2 separate regions of the Homo sapiens genome follow, and region 1 is linked to region 2. Evidence: promoter capture Hi-C in human tissues and cell types (Jung and others, 2019). All regions are on one chromosome and are shown on one strand. The core of a region is centred on a gene start or on the middle of the fragment in contact, and the rest is flanking DNA. Distances in the headings are between cores, read along the strand shown.

Region 1 (3,724 bases), core at 880-3,379, 1.6 Mb after region 2:
ATGAGTAATCAAATTAATACAAAAATATGAGAATGCATGTAATGGCTTTATTGGATAGGTTAGTTGTTTCTTTAAATCCATTGCTACTCCATACTGGCTCCTTGAAATGATAGCCATCTACATCCTGATACTATTGCTGTTTCTGTGTAGCTGCTCAGGTAGTTTTGCTACAAGAGAGCCTAAGCCAAGGCCTGGGTGAGTGGACAGGTAACTCAGTACACCTGGAATGCTCAAATCCTGCACGTGCCAAAGAAAGAACTGGCCCTTGACTGGCTCTTGGGAGATAACCTCTGAGCCCTTAAAATATCCTACCTGATAAGATTGTTTTTGTATGCCACAGGCCTTGGAGCATGCTGTATCAGTTTGACATCTGGGGAACTGGAGACTGAGTAGCTAAAGTCAGGTATTGAGTGATAAATCCCTGCAAGACTGACTCCCCAATAAAAACTCTGGAAACCAAGGCTCAAGTGAGCTTCCCTGGCTGGCAATAGTTCACACAATGTTGTGACATGTCATTGTTAGGAGCATTAAGTGTGTCCCTGTATAGCTCCTCTGGAAGCAGCCACCTGAAAGCTTGTACCTGGTTTCTCCTAACCTTTGTCCATGTACCTTTTCTTTCTGGTGACTTTAGTATGTATCCTTTTACTAGAATAAACCATAACTGTAAGAATAACAGCTTTTCTGCATCTTAGCAAATCTTTGAGGCTGATAGTCTCTAAAGTTCTTAGTACAGTTTCTCTTTTCACAAAATAAAATGGAACATTTGAGGGAATCTTCCCAAAATATCTTATTAAAACCTCTATCGTGTAATGAATATGTTAATTAGCTTGATAGTGGCAATGACTTCACAATGTACATTTCTATCAAAAGATTAAATATATAAATATATATTTAAATATATAAAATTTTTATGTGTCAATTATACCTCAGTAAAGATGGGCAGGGAGTACCTCCATCTCAGCGGTCCCCAACATTTTTGGCATCAGGGACTGGTTTCATGAAGACAATTTTTCCACAGAGTAGGGACAGGGTGGTTTCAGGATGATTCAAGTGCATTACATTTATTGTACACTTTATTTGTATTATTATTACATTGTAATATATAATGGAATAATTATACAACTCAGCATAATGTAGAATCAGTGGGAGCCCTGAGCTTGTTTTCTGCAACTAGACAGTCCCATCTGGGGGTGATGAGAGACAGTGACAGATCATCAGGCATTAGATTCTCATAAGGAGCCCACAACCTAGATCCCTCACATGCACAGCTCACAATAGGGTTCACGCTCCTATGAGAATCAAATGCCGCCGCTGATCTGACAGGAGGTGGAGCTCAGGCAGTAATGTGAGTGATAAGGAGCGGTTGTAAATACAGAGAAAGCTTTGCTCACTTGCTTGCCACTCACCTCCTGCTGTGTGGCCTGGTTCCTCACAGGCCAAGGACCAGTACTGGTCTGTGGCCCAGGTTTTGGGGACCCCCGCTCTATCTTAATAAAGAGGATACAAATAAATTTGAAGACTTCCTTGCAGAAGATGCAAATAAATTTGAAGAATTCTAAAACAACAACTACTAAAGAAATTTCAATAGAGAGGTAAGATGCTACTTGAAATCAAGGATTTGAATGGTAGAGTGTAGGGACCAGCCCCACAGGGTCGGTGGGTCTCTCCCTGTGCACGGCGACGAGAGAGTGTAGAAATAAAGACACACGATAAAGAGATAAAAGAAAAGGCAGCTGGGCCCGGGGGACCACTACCACCAATGCGCGGAGACCGGTAGTGGCCCCGAATGTCTGGCTGTGCTGTTATTTATTGGATACAAGGCAGAAGGGGCAGGGTAAAGAATGTGAGTCGCCTCCAATGATAGGTAAGGTCACGTGGGTCACGTGTCCACTGGACAGGGGGCCCTTCCCTGCCTGGCAGCCGAGGCAGAGAGGGAGAGGAGACAGAGAGAAAGACAGCTTACGCCATTATTTCTGCATATCAGGGACTATTAGTATTTTCACTAATTGACTACTGCTATCTAGAAGGCAGAGCCAGGTGTACAGGATGGAACATGAAGGCGGACTAGGAGCGTGACCACTGAAGCACAGCATCACAGGGAGACGGTCAGGCCTCTGGATAACTGCGGGCAAGCCTGACTGATGTCAGGCCCTCCACAAGAGGTGGAGGAGCACAGTCTTCTCTAAACTCCCCCGGGGAAAGGGAGCCTCCCTTTCCCGGTCTGCTAAGTAGCAGGTATTGTTCCTTGACACTTTTCGCTACTGCTAGACCACCGTCCGCTCGGCAACGGGCGTCTTCCCAGACACTGGCGTTACCGCTAGACCAAGGAACCCTTCTGCTGGCCCTGTCCGGGCATAACAGAAGGCTCGCACTCTTCTCTTCTGGTCACACCTCACTATGTCCCCTCAGCTTCTATCTCTGTATGGCCTGGTTTTTCCTAGGTTATGATTGTAGAGCGAGGATTATTATAATATTGGGATAAAGAGTAATTACTAGAAACTAATGATTAATGATATTCATATATCTCTAAGATCTATATCTGGTATAACTATTCTTGTTTTATATTTTATTATACTGGAACAGCTCGTGTCCTCGATCTCTTGCCTCGGCGCCTGGGTGGCTTGCCGCCCACAGTAGAGCAACAAAGAAATATCATTTCCCAGTTATGAGATTAGCAAAATGAGACAACTGGTTACACCCCATATGATTACATGAGAAATAATCTCAGGGCATCCTGCACATAAGATTATATTTAGAAAAATGTATGAGCATGTACAGGCATGCCTTAAACTCAGCAATTATACATCTTAGATTCTATTCAAATGAAGATTTAAATGTGTACAAAGAGGAAACAGTTTAACAAACCATTATTGTATTAATATAATGAAAAACAAGATAATCATAAAACTGATAGCTTTGCCAGGCACGGTGGCTCATGCCTGCAATCTCAGCACTTTGGGAGGCCGAGGCAGGCGGATCACCAAGTCAGGAAATCGAGACCATCCTGGCCAACATGGTGAAACCCCGTCTCTACTAAAAATACAAAAAAAATTAGCTGGGTGTGGTGGCGTGCACCTGTAGTCCCAGCTACTCAGGAGGCTGAGGCAGAAGAATCACTTGAACCCAGGAGGCGGAGGTTGCAGTGAGCCAAGATCATGCCACTGCACTCCAGCCTGGGCAACAGAGTGAGGCCCCATCTCAAAAAAAAAAAAAAAAAAAAAAAGATAGCTTTGGGGTGGGGCGCAGTGACTCACACCTGTAATTCCAGCACTTTGGGAGGCCGAGGTGGGAGGATCACTCGAAACCAGGAATTCATGACCAGCCTGGGCAATGTAGAGAGACCCCCTGTCTCTAAAATATATATATATAAACTAGCCAGGTGTGGTAGCCCACACCTATAGTCCTAACTACTTGGGAGGCTGAAGCAGGAGAATCCTTGAGCCCAGGACATTGAGGCTGCAGTGAGTTATGATTGCACCATTGCACTCCAGCCTGGGAGACAAAGGGAGACCCCATCTCAAATCTCAAAAAAAAAAAAAAAAGTTTCTCCTTAATTTGTAACATGAAAAATCTTTTACCTCAATTTTCTAGTGAACAGAGAGCATTATTAAACGGAATAGTCATTGTCATCCTAGAGTTATCAAACAGAAGAGTGACTGTCAACCACTTTTGGCAGAAAACCCACACGTGTGTGGATATATATAAGATCTGGAAAGATTTTTCG
Region 2 (3,687 bases), core at 51-2,550:
TCAGATCCTTTACCCAGCGGTTACCTCTCCTGGGAGCCCTTTCCCCTGACCCTTCTCTTAGTTAACCCCAACTCACCCTCCAGTCTTCTCAACTGTAACCTCCTCAGGGAAACAATGTCTTAAAAAACTCTTGCAGCAGCTTGTTTATGGTAAATACAATTTTCATAATGTCTTGTAATTACATATTTATATTACATTATATTTTTCTTTCTTGCATATAAACCTAAATGTGAAAAATTACATTATGGTTTAATACCTATTTGTGTGGCTGTTACTGAGGCCTGTGAGTTGTCTCAGGGCAAAGACTGGGTCTCTCTTGCCCCCTGCTGTGGCCCCAGCCCCTAGCATAAAGCCAGGTCCACAGCCGCTTTCAAAAAATGATTGTTGAATGACTAAATGATGGAATGATGTGTCATGAGTCAAAGACTAGGAGTATTACAATTCCATTCTCCAATGGGTGAATGAATGAATTAACGAGGGGTGCTCTGCAGCCAAGATTCCTCTGGACCACCTTCAAATTCCCCAGAATTCTCCCACCATCACCACCAGCAGAGCACAGCCCACCCTCCCCGGCCACCCAACGCTCCAGGCCAGATTCCAGGGTGGGGACAGTGGTTACCGTAGTCCTTAGGGAGGGGGGCAGGTGCCGAGGGGTGCACAACAGGCTTCTGCCGGCGCTCCTGGGTGGGGCTGGGGGCCTCGGGGACGGGTTCATCCTCCTCCTCCTCTTCTTCCTCCTCTCCTCGGGGTGGCGGGGCCATCGGGGCAGGATCTGTCTTAGTCATGGTCCTCGGTGGCCCTCGGGGGGCGGGTGCAGAGTTGGGGGCAGCCTTCAGGCAAATCCTGGAGGCAGAGGTCAGCTGGAGAGGGTGCCCGGCAGGCTCCAGGGTCCAAGCCCCTAGGAGCTTCCAGGGCCCCGGGTGGCCTCCGCGCAACTGGATCTTGGGCAACCATAGGGACCCCCGTTACCCATAGAGGGCCCCGGTGTGTGCGCCCAGCGCCTGCCACCTCCCCCAGGCCCAGCCCCCCATTCTTCTCCTCCCGCGTCAGGCCCCTCAGTCGCGGCTGCCCCCTCCCCGGGTTTGTTTATCTCGGGATTCAGGATGCTTCGCCCCTCCCCTTCTCCGCGGGCCGCCCCCTCCCCATCTTACCTCGGGCAGACAGCGCTGGGGACCAAAGTGGAGACTGGGGAGACTGTGGGAGCAATGGGGTGTCGGTGTCAGGGGACGTGATGGGGGAGGCAAGGGAGACAGAGAGAAGGGGACGAGGCCCAGACGCCGACAGGGGGTGGGGGCGGAGAGGGAGGGGCGCGACTGCGCATGCGCCTGCTGCCCCCCTACCGGCGGCGGGGGAGGAGGGACCAGGAGGAGGGACCGGGAGGCGCTCGCATTGATGGAGGGGCCAGAGGCGGCGACTGAAAGGGGAGAGCCTCCGGGCACTGGGAGAGGAAGAGATGGCTACGGAAAGGAGCGAGATGAGCAGATACAACGGCAAAAGAGAGGGCTGAGAGAGCGGACACAGATCTTCTCCATCCCCTTCCCCCACGCCTGCAAACCAGGCCGGTGAGGGCAGTGGTCTTGGGGCGTGGTGACGATGGGGACCCTCTAGGGGACCCTCTCTCTAGGACCCTAGACCGGACCCCTTCTCCAAGCTCACCATTCATAATGGGTGCCTCAGAGGGGTGATTTCCTAGAGACTCCTATCATGATCATCTCATCCTTACCATCATAATGCGAGGCTCACACACTGGGGCCCAGAGGTTAAGCAGCTTGCCCAAAAGTACATGAGTAGGTGATGGAGCGAACATTTGAAACCAGACAGTCTGTAAAGTCTGATTTTTATTTTTATTATTTCCTAGACAGGGTCTCACTCTGTCACCCAGGCTACTGTGCAGTGTTGTGATCTTGGCTCACTGCAGCGTCAAACTTCTGGGCTCAAGCCATCCTCCCACCTCAACCTCCCGAGTAGCCGAGACCACACGTGCATGCCACCATGTCTGGAGAATTTTTTTTGAGACAGGGTTTTGCCATGTTGCCCAGGCTGGTCTTGAACTCCTGACCTCAAGGGATCCTCCTGCCCCTGCCACCCAAAGCGCTGAGATTACAGGCACGAGTCACCATGCCCAGCTTTGATTCTTAATCACCATGCTACATGCCTGTAGCAGTGTCTGGGAAACAGATCTGCCGATTGACCCCTCCAACTCTCTCAGAACCTGTATCTTCCCCACGGAGGCCTCCTGAAGCCAGCCCAGGGTCCTGGCTCCATTGTCATGGCTTGGCTTCCCACCTGGAGCTGTAGCCTGCTCTGCCTCAAATCATCCCAGCCTGGATGGGGCTGGGTGACAGCCTTGAACACCTCATCCTTCTAATGCACAGGTCCAGTAGCTCCATCTCCAAAAGATTTCCAGGATCTCACTCTCCCCACCGCTACCCTGGGCCCTCATCTTGGTCCATCCTTCTTCTTCTGCCACCAGCACTACGGCAGCAGCCTCTTACCTGCTGTCCCCGTCCTCCTCCAACATGCAGCCACAGGGACCCATGAACACCTGTCACTTTGGAGCCCTCTTTCCCTCAGAGGGGTCTGCCTGCTGCACCTCACTCCAGGTAGAAGCCAAGGCTCTCAGCCATGGCCCACAAGGGCCTATGTGAACCTGCCCCATCATCTCTGCACTCACCTCCTCTCACCCTCTTTTGTTCACTCCACCCCAGCCACACTGGCCTCCTTGCTTCTCCCTACCCCAGGACCTTTGCACTGGCTCTTTTTTTTTTTTTTTTTTGAGATGGCAGTCTCACTGTTCCCCAGGCTGGAGTGGAGTGGCATGATCTCTGCTCACTGCAACCTCTGTCTTCCAGGTTCAAGTGATTCTCCTGCCTCAGCCTCCCGAGTAGCTGGGATTACAGGCCTGTGCCACCACACCCAGCTAATTTTTGTATTTTTAGTAGGGACGGGGTTTCGCCATGTTGGCCAGGCTGGTCTCAAACTCCTGACCTTAGGTTATCTGCCTGCCTCAGCTTCCCAAAGTGCTGGGACGACAGGCGTGAGCCACCGTGCCTGGCCTGCAACGGCTCTTTGTGATGCCCGGAATGCTCTTCCTCCAAATCCCTACGTGGCTCCCTCTCTGCCCTGTTTTAGGATCTTACTTGTTGGTGTCTTTTCACCTTCTCTGCTCTAAAACTGCACCCCTTCCTCCCTTCCCTACTATGGTTTTCTCCATAGCAACACCGCCTCCCAGACCTGACACATCCCAGACAGCAGGCCCTCACTGCAGGGGTTGTTCGTCCTCTGGAACCTGAGCCTGTAGCGCTCCAGGCCAGCCCCTTCTGATCACCCAGGTTTCTGCTAAAACATGGCCTTGGAGGGCCCTCCCCCAGGCCCAAACCAAATTTTTGTTGTCTTTATAGCACTCATCGCTCATGTCTGCAGTGTTCTTGTTTATTTGTTTACTAGTTCATCGTCTACTCAAGTAGAATGAGCACCATGAGGGCAGGGATTTTCTCAGCTGTGTCCACCATGGTATCATGAACTCAGTACCAGGCTTGGCAAAAAGCGTGGGACTCCTTAGAACCAGGTATGATTCTCCCAAACAACCCTTGCTCTGCTCTGAGGCTGTCGTACTGATTTGCAAAGATCTGAGCCGGGGGTGGCAGAAGCCTGGTACCCAGGGGATTGGGGGCTGATGAGAGACTT

The links. The method cuts DNA at HindIII sites, captures the fragments that hold promoters and counts their contacts. A contact is called where the count stands out against the background at its distance.
Region 1: a contact is called between a fragment that was not itself captured here and the fragment with the promoter of CLIP3 in region 2, in 1 of the 25 tissues and cell types used here (small bowel).

The regions. Positions count from the first base shown.
Region 1 is chr19:37,678,900-37,682,623 of GRCh38, forward strand. It overlaps the pseudogene ZNF781. Among named protein-coding and RNA genes, the nearest start is that of ZFP30, 25 kb to the left of the region's middle. The HindIII fragment of the contact is 6,868 bases long and covers 1-3,724 here.
Region 2 is chr19:36,031,573-36,035,259 of GRCh38, forward strand. It overlaps CLIP3 (CAP-Gly domain containing linker protein 3), which reads right to left and starts at 1,301. Exons shown (of 14, transcript NM_015526.3): 1 at 1,152-1,301; 2 at 620-843. The coding sequence starts at 785. All of the region lies in intron 3 of LOC101927572 (a long non-coding RNA gene), which reads left to right. It overlaps THAP8 (THAP domain containing 8), which reads right to left. Exons shown (of 4, transcript NM_152658.3): 4 at 3,412-3,687. The HindIII fragment of the contact is 12,641 bases long and covers 1-3,687 here.